Linked DNA regions of Homo sapiens: region 1 is linked to region 2. Evidence: promoter capture Hi-C in human tissues and cell types (Jung and others, 2019). All regions are on one chromosome and are shown on one strand. Each heading gives the region's core, a stretch centred on a gene start or on the middle of the fragment in contact. The rest is flanking DNA. Distances are from core to core; before and after follow the strand shown.

Region 1 (6,246 bases), core at 3,172-5,671, 950 kb before region 2:
AGAGGTACACCATCATGTCTGGCTAATTTTTAAATTTTTTTAGTTGAGACAGGGGTCTCACTATGTTGCCCAGGCTGGTCTCAAACTCCCAGCTTCAAGCAATCCTCCCACCTCGGCCTCCCAAAGTGCTGGGAATACAGGCTTGGGCCACCGTGCCTGGCCCCTTCTTATTGAACTGTGAGTGTTCTTGTTATATTCTAGATTAGGTCCTTGGTCTGACATATATTTTGCAAATTTCTTCAGTCTATGTCTTGCCCTTTAAATTTTGTAGCAACATCTGTCCCTTACACAACTTCATTTGTCTTCATAGCCTCATCACGCCCTGACACCCGGGTTCACTGTCCATTTCCCCACCCACTACGCTGTGAATGGCAGATGGACCTGACAGCAGTAACTTAAGCATACCCTGAAAATGACCCTTTGGTCTAAGAAGAAAGTGTGTTTGGAGTCTTGAGCTAAGGAATCTGGGAGTGGCCAACTAGGAGTCTCACTTCTTTTCTATGAAGAGATCTGAACCCCTGGCCTGTTGGTCCCTTGGAATGCAGGCCGTACAGGGGATCCAGGCCCTTTGTTGTGGCTTAAATGGAGGTTGCTAGGTGGAGAGGGCTCCACAAAAATTGCTATATAAATTGCATGCTTTTTACAAATGATAGTGTTTCTCCTGTCCAGGCCACTGCCACTGGATCACTTTTGTATCTAAGTCCTCAATAAACTCCATGTCTCATTCACTGGCTCTGGGTCTCTTCTTCGGCCTCTTGGACATGGTGCCATTCTTATTGGAGTCAATAGGGGCCTGGCGCACCATGTTGTCAGCTCCACGAGGGCAGTGCTGGTTTTCCCGCTATGTCCTCGGCTCCTTACACAGCGGGTGTTCAGCAGATATTGTTCAGTGCTCCTGCCAGTCCTCCCGGACATGGCGTGTCTTGGTGGCAGGTGACATGGACTGGTGAGTGGAGACCTCAGAGCAGCCTGTTGCAAAACTTCCAGGCCAGCAGTAAGGGGTCCTGAGCTGGGGCACGGGTGGGGTCTGGGGAAAGGAGACGAGCTGACGGAGAAGGAGGGCCAGAGAGACTTTTCCAAGGTGCAGGCTCCCCTCTTCCCTTCCCCTGCCTGCCATACACACCCCGCCTGCTGCTCAGCAATGGCATCACAGCCCCTCCTGCCAGCCTGCCCGGATGCAGGGAGCAGCAGGAGAGTTTCTACAGGAAATAGACATGGGCATGGGTGGCATGTGGGGAGGCTCTAAAAGGCTTGATTAGCTCCTTTACCATGAGTGTGTTTACAGCATGTATGTGTAATGACACACACAGTGTGAGGGTGTATATTGCATGGTGCGTGTTATCTCTGTGGGGTGTGTTCTTGTACACCGGTGCAGGGCATATATGTGTTATGATGTGGGTTTGTCCAGAGAATAAAGCAACAACTTCCTCTCCAGGATGGGAGGACTGTTATGTGGTCTCTGGTGTCCTTTCTGTCCATTCTTTAGAGCATCCCACCAGGGACCCTGCCTGTGAATCTGTTGGCTCTCTCTTTTCTGACAGTGCAAAACAAAGCTCCTTCTGCAGCCAGACAGACCCTGGCAGCAATTCCAAGCAGATGCCCACTTACCAGCTCGGACTAGTTGCTCTAACGCCTCTGAGCCTGTTTTTTGGTCTGTTAAAGGAGATTAATAACACCTACCACGCAGGGTGGCAGCGACAGTGAGGAAAGGTATGCCTATGAAGAGCTTAGAATAGCGCCTGACACACAGTAGGTGCTCAATTCACAGTAGTGTATATGCCCACACACAGGTATGTACATTCCAAATGCACCAACGCCCCTCAAGATACCCTCAATACACAAATAGATTGAGTCTGGGCTGGATGCGGTGGCTCATGCCTGTAATCCCAGCACTTTGGGAGGCTGAGGTGGGAGGATCACTTGAGCCCAGGAGTTCAAGACCAGCCTGGACTGGTGGAGACATGGTGAGACTCTGTCTCCATGAAAAATAATTAAAAATTTAAAAAATATATTTTAATTTGAAAACTTTTAAAAAGGAAAGATATGGACTAGGTCTGGTCGCTGGGCTCCTGACGACAAGGCTTGCTGTGCACATACATCTTCATTAGTGTGAGCTGTGCTCACGTCGGCTGCGTGGAGGCTGGGACAGACACGGACACCCCACAGTGCCCAGTGATGTGTCACACCCACACATCAGCACCACGCTGACCTCTTGCCAACCTGCCATATCTGCCCCCTTATCTACTCAGAATGGTCAAGGTGCCCAGGGGGCAGTGTCTCTCAGTAATTTTCCACAACCTGAGAAAAAGCTGTGTTTCTCTCAGATGTGGGGAAAAGGGGAGCCCTTGTTCCTGAGGCATCCTTCCTGCTGTCCTTGCTCTTGTAAGGCTGACTGGCTGAGTTTTTGGGTGGAGGGGCTGAGGCTCCCAGCCTATCTCAGATGGTGCTGAATGTGGCTGGAGGTTACGATTGCTTTGGTCCCACCACCCCTCAGAGGATGCCCTGCGCAGAGTCTTGGGTCTGACTGACCTCGGCAGCACCCAGCCCATAAGGTCCTGTTAATCAAAATCCTTGCTGGGGCCTGGGAGCTCCATGAGGGAAGGGGCCACATCTCCCACAGGTCTCGGGCTTCAGCACCCAGTACAGGAGCAGGTGTTCATGAACTGAATTATATATCTTTTGCATTAAAAAAAATTTTTTTTGAGACAGAGTCTCGCTCTGTTGCCCGGGCTGGAGTGAAGTGGCATGATCTCAGCTCACTGCTGCCTCTGCCACCCGGGTTCAAGTGATTCTCCTGCCTCAGCCTCCCGAGTAGCTGGGATTACAGGTGTCCGCCACCACGCCCGGCTAATTTTTGTATTTTCAGTAGAGATGAGGTTTTGCCAGGTTGCCCAGGCTGGTCTGGAACTGCTGACTTCAGGTGATCCACCTGCCTCAGCCTCCCAAAGTGCTGAGATTACAGGCGTGAGCCACCGGCCTTTTTTTGCATTTAAGTCGCACCTCCAGGGGTTGGGGAGCTGTATGCAGTGGTGGTTACATGTGTGGGCTGAGGCATGGAACTACACAACCTCTTGGGCCTGAGCTTCCCCTTGTTAAACTGGAATAACAATGAAGACGCCTTCCTCATAGGGTTGTTCCAAGAACACCATGAAGGAACGCATGCAAAGTGCTCAGGGAGTGCCTGACCCCACATACAGAGCACCCAGGGGCTGCCCTCTTCATCCCAGAGTCACTGCTCCCACTGTTTTCTGGGCTCTGGCCCCCCCTAAAATTTCACAGGCCGCTAACACAACACTACCTTCTGTCACAAAATGAGAGCTTTCTGGTGGGCTAGGGTAGGGGGAGATATTAACAGCCAACTTTAAAATCAGGCAGGAAAAAAAGGTGCCAAGGAGACAGGAAGTAATAAATGACTCCAGGTTGGGCAGGGCAGGCTGGGAAGAGGAAGTGGATTGGGTCTTGTTTAGGTAAAAGACTTCAGTGGCAGACAAAGGAGGAGTAATAAGATCGCTAGGGGGCCCGTGCCCAGCCCACCCACGCACAATCTCAGTCCTCGCAATACCCACAAGGTAGGTGCTAGGATCACACCCTTTACGGACGCGGCACCTGCGACAGGGATGCGCGAGGAGTCAGGGGGCCTCGCCGGATCGAACCTAAGCTGGGGAAGAGTATTTCTTGTATTTTTAGGAGAAATTCTCAGCCTCGGGGAAGAGTATTTCTTGATGAGGGAAGAGCGCGGGGAAGACACTCACGCACGCACAAACATGTGGGCGGCCATGGTGTGCCCAGCGCCGTGCTGGCTTCTGGGAACCCCCAGTGGACAAGACGGACAAGGTACCGGCTCTCAGGGGAAGTGGGAGCCAGTCACAAGCGTACCTAATTTCGGAGAGTGACAAGTACTCTGAAAAAGAAAGAAGGTAGGGCTGGTGACTGGCCAATTTAAGCGGGCAGGAGTCTGCTGGGGGACGGAGACCAGCCTCAGGTCTGGGTTGGGGACAGAAGCTGTGCCTAAGTGTGGTGCAGGATGCAGTTGCAAAGGAGCGCTTCCGATCGCACTTGATGCTCGCCACGTCCCTGCAAAGTGCTCCCGCCCCCTTTCTGCAAATGAGGAAACGGGACGCGCGGCTCGCCGGGCCAGGTAGGGCTAGGACGCGGACTCTAGGCCCAAGCGCTCCCCAGCGCAAGCCCTCCCCCGCACATCCGACCGCGCCTGCGCTGGAGACCCCGGGGGCGTGGCCTCCCCGGTGGGCGGGACCGTGGTCACCGAGGTGGGCGGTGCCAGAGGATCTGGCGGCGGGGCGGGGCGGGGCGCGCGTCCTGGCTTCGCCCTTCCCCGGGGCGGGGCCTCCGGGGACCGCGGGGCCGTTGGTTTCGGGACGGAACGTTCACGCGGCTGGGGCGGGCGCGCGGGGGAAGGGTTTGCGGCGGCGCCGCTGCCGGCTAACGCGGAGGGGCGCCTGGAGGCGGCGTGGCGTCCGCTCTGGCTCCGACTCCGGCTCTCGCTCTCGCTTCTAGCCCGCGTGCCTGCGCAGTCCCCTCCCCGAGAACCATCCCCTTGCCCCGCCCAGCGTCAGGGGTGCGCGGCCGCCGAGAGACCCCGGAGGCGTAGCCGGCTGCGGAGGCGAAGAGGTGGCAGCGCGAGCTGGGACCAGCGTCTCGGAGGCGCCGCAGGTGAGGGGGCGGGGCGGGCCCGCGGTCCCTGCATCCGGAGCCCCTGGGGACCCCGAGATCCTCAGGATCCGCCCCGGCCCCGGGGCCACCCCAGGACTCCCTCTCAGCTCTTCCCCTGGAGCCCCTGCCCCCGAGACCCCCTCAGGATCCGCCCTGCCCCTCCAGGCCCGCGAACCCCGAAACTCCAAGATTTTCTCTGGACTCCGAGACCCCCTGAGGACCCCGGCCGCTAGTGGGCCCTGAGAACTGTTGGTTCCGGAAACTCTCGAGGTTCCCTTGGGACTTGCTTCCAGCAACCTCCTCAGAAGCCCCCAGGCCCGGGGCATCTTCCTGTGGGGAGCCGTGGTTCCCAGTGTCCTTAGCCCCGCGAGACCCCGGGTCCCCGTGCCGCCCACCCTGAGGCTCCCTCTCCGACCTGATCTCAGGGCTAGGTTTCTCCAACTTGAGGTCCCTGGACCTGCGGGGCGTGGGTGGAAGTGTTCCCAGGTCTGGTGATAACTTAAGACGGTAACAGCGCGCCCGACGACCACCTCCTAAGCTGTGGTCCCCGCGCCTGCAGGTGCAGGGCCGGGTTTAAGTTTTAATGTTCTGCTGAGACTCAGGTGGCCCCACAGGACAGTCTATAGAGCAGGAGACCTGAGGTGGCCGAGGGCGGCCGAACCGGGGAGGGAGCGAGTTAGGGCACATGGGGACGCTTTTAGGTTGTCTCCTCCTTAATTTTTTCATTCAAGGAACTAACATTTTGTTTTTGAATGCCTGATAGGCTCCAGGAATTGACACTGGAAATAGAGATGAGACGGTCCCTGCTGTCAGGGCCTAGGGACCTGGGGCATAAGACAAGTAGGTCGTTTTTATCTGGAGGAAGCTGTGTCGTCGCTGGCAGGGAACCCATCTGGGTGGGCATGGGATTCTGGGAAGGGGTGGGTGTTAAGGAGGGCGTCTTAGGAGTCGTGGGGAGGAGATGCTAAGCAGCAGGTGAGCTGATTCTTGAAGGTTGAGCTAGAGGAGAAGTTTGCCAGGGTCATTCCAGGCAGAGTTTCAGGGGACAGCCAGTATGTCAAAAGGCAGAGAGGCTGCCACGGCACACAGTGTTGGAAGGCGGGAGGTGTGGCTGGAGCACACCTAATGAAGGTGGCGTGGGAGTGAATGCTAACTGCGGAGAACCCAGCTTTGCTCCCGGAGGCCCACCGTGCCCTTGGCCCTTTCTTGAACGACTGCACCTGCCATTGTCCTGAGAAATGATCCAGCTGAGCTGAAGGAAGGTGGGAGGTGGTCAGGGGGAGAAGTGAGGGAAGTGTCTCGCTAGAGACCTGGTATGGGAGAAGCTGGGACTTTTGCAGAGTACTGGGTTTGAGGTGGGAGTGACAAGAAAGAGGGTGTGATTCTGAGAGCCAGTCAGGACCAAAGCATGCCCAGTTTAAGCTGAGTGGAGGGTTTGGTACTTAAAGGGAGTGGGTGGCCATTGAAGGGCTTTGGGAGGAGAGGGGCGGGAGTTGGTGTGTTTTTGAACCATCCATGTGGCTGTGGTGGGGAGACTTTTTTGGAGGAAGCAAGACCCTATGAGAGATGGGGGTG
Region 2 (5,962 bases), core at 3,053-5,552:
TCATTGATCTCATGTATTTCCTCTCTCTTGACTCAGTTTGTTCTTGTCTATTTAGATTAAAGAACATAATGTTACAAAGAAGAGAGCTAAGCAACATTGCTAAACAACAGGACAATCTCTGGAGCCTATTGAATGTTTTAGCAACAACACTAGCAAAAATAGAGAACCACATGTGGTTTTTCCGGAGATTACTACTCACATCTATAAAGAAAAAGTCTTTTCTAGTCAGACGCTCATCTGGATGGGTAACGTGAAATGTTCTGTCCAAAGTGGTATCAACAGAAAGCCATTTCTGGCATATGAACAGCCAAATGTGCCTGCTAAACAGATTTTCCACTTTGATTCTACTTAAATACCAGCTAGGCGATCGACCCTCGTTGTTGTGCCACACACGGATGGAATGGATGTCCCCCAAGTCACTTTTTGTCGTTAGGAGGAAAGTGTTGATGCTACCTCGGTAGAGAGTTGTGAAATGTGGATGGCTTAAACAATGCACGTCGCTGGTACTCACAGTTCCTCTAAGTTGCACAAAGACATTGGCCCTGGTCCCAGACCCCCAACGACTTCCTGTAAAAATAGTCACCAAGTAGCATAAATTATCATAAGGATCATTATCTGGTAGAACTATCACATGCCCCCGAAGATGCTGGTCCATTTCATCCCTGTATAAAGCCCAAAAAGCTAGGCCCACGTATAAGAGAATAATGAAAAGCACAGTGAAGAGGGTCACGGGGTTTTGGTGAAGGCTCTTGATGATGTTTAACCGTAGATCCACAGGATTAGGGATCACAATCACCTTGGCCATCACATAGTGGGTATGCAGGTGAATGCCCGTGAGTCCGATTGTGCCCAGCTGCCGCCTAGCCCTTACTACATTCTTGCAGATGCAGTGCACCTCATACCAGCTGGTCTTCTCACCAAGAATGCAATAACCCTCTCTCCATTCACTCTGGATCCCATACATGTCCAAGCACTGGACGCTGAAAATAGAAATTCTCACTAGCTTGTCATTGAGCTTCATGACAAAACGAGGTGCCTGCAGAACTATGGATACAGTACAGTGGGGAGAGTGGCTGTGCTGAGCTATGAGTTGCAGCAGGGACACAGGGAGGCAGACTACACGGGCCTTCTTCACTGTGCAGGCTGGGTCAAACAGGGCACTCTGGCTGGCAAATGGAGGGATGTCATGAGGCACCAGGAAGGTGGCGACCAGCGCTGTGGGAGTGATCTGACTGCCTGTGTACACCAACACTGTGAACAGCACCATCACTTCTGTTACTATGTGGACCAGAACCTCCCTAAGCACTGTGCTGTCCACTTGAAAGCTAAACCCACCTGTCGTCTTCTTCAAGGACCCATCAACCTCGCTGTTGGGTCCCACTGTGAGATTAAAAGCTGCAAAGGTCAAGTTTTTCCTGACAAGGTACACTTCCGCTACATCAGGTGTGATCTCTAGCACACTACCGTTATCTGCAACTCCTGTCATTCTGAATCCAGACACCTCCACCGAAGTGTTTTCCTGATCATTTAACCAAGGAAAGAGGTCATTTGTGAAATCACAAAACATTGTAGAAATGGGACCATTTGCAGACAGACCAGGAACACTGCTCACATTGAGTGTTGGATAAAAACAATTTCTGCAGTGTTTCTCATTTCTGAAGAGCTGGTTGATACCCCACTTTTCAACTTTCTTGACATACATGTTGAAATTGGGGGTTCTCATTGAGGTGGTTTTGTTCCCTGGCACTTTATTAGCCAGTATTGTGTCTGATAGAGATTCTATTACATAGAAAGGATCTTTAACTACTTGGTGAGGAGAAGTCATTTTAAGAATATTAGACAAACTCATTAGTATTCCAGTACTCACGATTTCTATTTGTTCAGATCGAAAGCGTTTATCTTTTTGCTGATACTCTTGTAGGGCTTGATTTGCTTGCCATACCCTCATGGTGGCACGTTTCTGAGCATCCCAAGTGAATTCAGAGGGTTTCTGGGTTAATTTGGTAATAGTCATGACTACCTGGCCAATTTCTACCAAAGTGCTTACAGGAAGAAGGAAAGACTGATCGATGAGGTGTTTTCGGAGATTGACTCTGTCATCTCGGAGAGGTAATTCAGTTTTCATGTTATTCAAAACGGAAGCTACTATATACAGTAAGTAACCTGCAGGTAAAAAATCCTTCTTTTGAATCAAAGTAGACAGCAATGAACTTGGTCCCACGGTGAAACTGAGTAACTGATTCAACACTGTCTTTGATGAATTTTTGTCAGTGGGAGCCTGTGCGGTGGCATGCAAAGTCACCTGAGAAAAAGCTCCTAGAGAATCATAGACCTGGGCATATATCTTCAAGCCATATTGACTAGCCAACATACCAACAGGGAGAAAGGAAGGGGGTACTGTGGACTGAGGCCCCAAGTACAGGATGGTCCCCAGGGTGTTCTCTTTTACTGAACTGATTTCACCAACACTGTGCAAATCAGAAACAATTATTTTATATGTAAGAGGGACGTGCTTATCCCTAAAATTACTACACTGGACAACAAATTTAGTAATAAGTGCAATTCCTTTAGCTGGATTAATTTTGCATTCTCCGATCTGAGGGCCATGGTTAATAATAAAAGAATGCCTGAAGACCGAGGTCACTCCACTCCAACATGCTAGATACAGAGAAATCGAAAACTCAGCTTCCAAAAAATGCCGAAAAGCAAAAGCTTTTATAGACAGATAAGCACCATTCCTTCCTGTTACAGTTTCCCCCATCCAATCAAATAGCATCTCACCACCTGAAGAAGACAAAATTGACCATTTATAGAAATCACGGCTTGCACAATTTGTGCAATTTAGGAACAAAGAAAATCTATCAGAGACAATGAAGTTTCTCTCACAATTTTCGATACATGTGATGTGTGCTATGGCTTTTGGTCCTTGGAGCACGTGGACCCTCTTATCAGAAAACGCTGTCCTAGAGTCCTTCCGAATCACCATTCTGAAGAAATACACGTGGTCGCCTTTAAGTGTTTCTGGCAAAAGTGTCAGTACAGGGCCCGAGGCCCAGGGCCATTTCAGATTGGCCTGCTCGGGGTGACAGACTTCCTTGCTCCCCAGGATTATTCGATCCCCACCGTAGTTTCTGGGATCTGTGGTACAGTACCAAAAGAACTGGAGTCCCTGTAACGGGCTGTCCGCATCTGGGTCCGAGGACGTGGACCCGTCCAGAATCAGCTGCTCTGTGAAATTAGCTGTTATGTTGGCATCGCCAAGCATCACCGCCTGCAGGGAACTCCTGACGATCCAGACATAGACGGCGTCCGAGTCTTTCACCTCGGGCATCTTGGGGTTCCCTGTGGTGATGGACACCGTGAAATTAAACACATACACTCCCCACTGTAACGAATTATTGGGGATGTGAATGAACAAGGGGCTGTTCCTGATCTCGAGCTGGGGCAGATCCAAGGGCTGCGTCCAGTCGGGCGCCTGACCCACGGCGGGCACGGAGAACACCTGCCAGTACTGGGCGATGGCGCGCGCGGCCGGGCAGTCCAGCTGCACCGAGGCGTTGATGGTGGCCTCCGCCTGCATGCTCAGGCGCACGGGGGCGCCCTTCTGGTCCGTGTTGATCCTCACGCGCTGGATGACGCAGGCGTTTATCTGACAGGACACGGACGACTCGACGGCTCTGTGGCTGGACGAGTTGACGGCCTGCAACATCACGCGCGCGGGGCCGTCTGTGGGGCACTCGGTGCGGGCCACGAAGCCCTGCTGGGGCCGCGGGCCTGGCGCGGCGGAGCGCGGGGAGACGCGGGCCGCGGGGGAGGCCGGGCGGGCGGCGCCGGGTCCGAGCAGCCGCAGGCGGAAGGCCCAGGCCAGGCGCCCGGGCGAGCGCGGCAGCCGCACGGACCACGTCAGGGAGAGGCGGCCGCCGCGCGCGGAGAGCTGCAGGTCGACGAGCGCGAGCGCGGGCGCGGCCGGCCAGGGCAGGCGTTGGGCGCTGAGCAGGACGCGCAAGTCGAGGCAGTACCAGCGCCGCCCGGTCCCGCCATGGGGGAAGCAGAGGCTGCCGCGGCCGCTCAGGACAGCGCCGCCCGCCCGCACCGCGCTGGGCCGCAGACTGAGGAGGGCGCGGCCGCCGCGCACCCCGAGGCCCGGGGCGCCCCTGAGGAGGCCACCGGGCGCCCCGGAGACGGCGGCTTGTGCCCCGCGAGGAACCGGCGGCAGCGGGAGGCGGCCGACGCTCAGGCTCAGGCCCACGCCCAGAAGGAGGAGAGCGGGCCCAGGCCTCATGGCGCCGGCCCAGGAGAAGCTGGGAGAGGCCGCGAGGCGCGCCCAACCGCCACCGGGGTCGCGGGGATAGTGAGGGTCTTGGGGACAGTGGGGGTCTCGGGCGTCGAAGGGCGCTGGCAGAGGGGTCCCAGGGACAGAGTCCCAGAGAGCAGCTGGGACCTCGGAGCTTGGGGTCAGTCGGCACTGGGGACTTCTTGGGTACCTCTTCCCTCTCCGTCCCCAAGTGTGTGCAGGCCCAGGGTCAGGATGGCTCAGGAGGGCAGTTCAGCCCCGTGCAGACCACAGAGCTGACCACGGAGAAGGGGCTTCAGCAGGAACCCTTGGGAAAGCCAGTCACAAAATGGGAGATCAGGAGGGAACCGTGAGATCCCTGGGCGCCCAGGAAGGTCTGACTCTCGGTTTCTTACTTTGGGGTCGCTTTGCTCTTTTCTTTCTAGTTGGTTTGGGGGTTTTGTTTTTTGTTTGTTTGTTTGTTTGTTTGTTTTTTGAGACGGAGTCTCTGTCACCCAGGCTGGAGTGCAATGGCTTGACCTCAAGTGATCCACCCACCTCGGCCTCCCAAAGTGCTGGGATTACAGGCATGAGCCACTGTGCCTGGCCTCATTCTTTAACTCTGTCCATTTTTGCTGTATATTTTGGGACTTGATTGATGGATTGAATGATTTTAGAGACAGGGTCTTGCTCTGTTGCCCAGGCTGGAGTGCAATGGTGCAATCATAGCTGACTGTAACCTTGAACTCCTGGGCTCAAGGAATCCTCCTGCCTCAGCCTCCCATACTACAGGTCTACACCACTACACCTGACTGATTTATTTTTTATTTTTGTAGAGATGGTGTCTTGCTGTGTTTCACAGGCTGGTCTCAAACTCGTGGTCTTAATTGGCCCTCCCCTGTATTAGTCCGTTTTCATGCTGCTGATAAAGACATAACCAAGACTGGGAAGAAAAAGAGGTTTAATTGGACTTACAGTTCCATATGGCTGGGGAGGCCTCAGAATCATGGCAGGAGGCAAAAAGCACTTCTTGCATGGCAGTGGCAAGAGAAAATGAGGAAGACGCAAAAGCGGAAACCCCTGATAAAAGCATCAGATCTCCTGAGACTTATTCACTACCACAGAACAATATGGGGGAAACTGCCCCTGTGATTCAGTTATCTCCCACCCGGTCCCTCCCACAACATGTGGGAATTATGGGACTATAAGATGAGATTTGGGTGGGGACACAGAGCCAAACTATATCATTCCACCCCTGCCAAATCTCATCTCCTCACATTTCAAAACCAATCATGCCTTCCCAACAGTCCTCCAAAGTCTTAACTCATTTCACATTAACTCAAAAGTCCACAGTCCAAAGTCCTGTCTGAGACAAAGGAAGTCGCTTATGCTTATGAGCCTGTAAAATCAAAAGCAACTGGCTGGGCGCAGTGGCTCACCCTGTAATCCCAGCACTTCGGGAGGCTGAAGCGGGCAGATCACCTGAGCTTGGGAGTTTGAGACCAGCCTGACCAACATGGAGAAACCCCATCTCTACTAAAAATACAAAATTAGCCGGGTGTGGTGGTGCATGCCTGTAATCCCAGCTACTCGGGAGGCTGAGGCAGGAGAATCGCTTGAACCCGGGAAGCAGAGGTTGCGGTGAGCCAAGATCGTGTCATTGCACTCCAGCCTGGGCAACAGGAACGA

Evidence for each region. Contacts are between HindIII fragments. The study calls those that stand out against the background at their distance.
Region 1: a contact is called between the fragment with the promoter of FAM118A here and the fragment with the promoter of PKDREJ in region 2, in 1 of the 25 tissues and cell types used here (dorsolateral prefrontal cortex).

What each region holds. Positions count from the first base shown.
Region 1 is chr22:45,305,513-45,311,758 of GRCh38, forward strand. FAM118A (family with sequence similarity 118 member A) reads left to right here and starts at 4,422. Exons shown (of 9, transcript NM_017911.4): 1 at 4,422-4,671. RefSeq lists a silencer at 4,088-4,767 and an enhancer at 5,484-6,246. The HindIII fragment of the contact is 15,582 bases long and covers 1-6,246 here.
Region 2 is chr22:46,259,041-46,265,002 of GRCh38, forward strand. It overlaps PKDREJ (polycystin family receptor for egg jelly), which reads right to left and starts at 4,303. Exons shown (of 1, transcript NM_006071.2): 1 at 1-4,303. The coding sequence starts at 4,282. The HindIII fragment of the contact is 11,288 bases long and covers 557-5,962 here.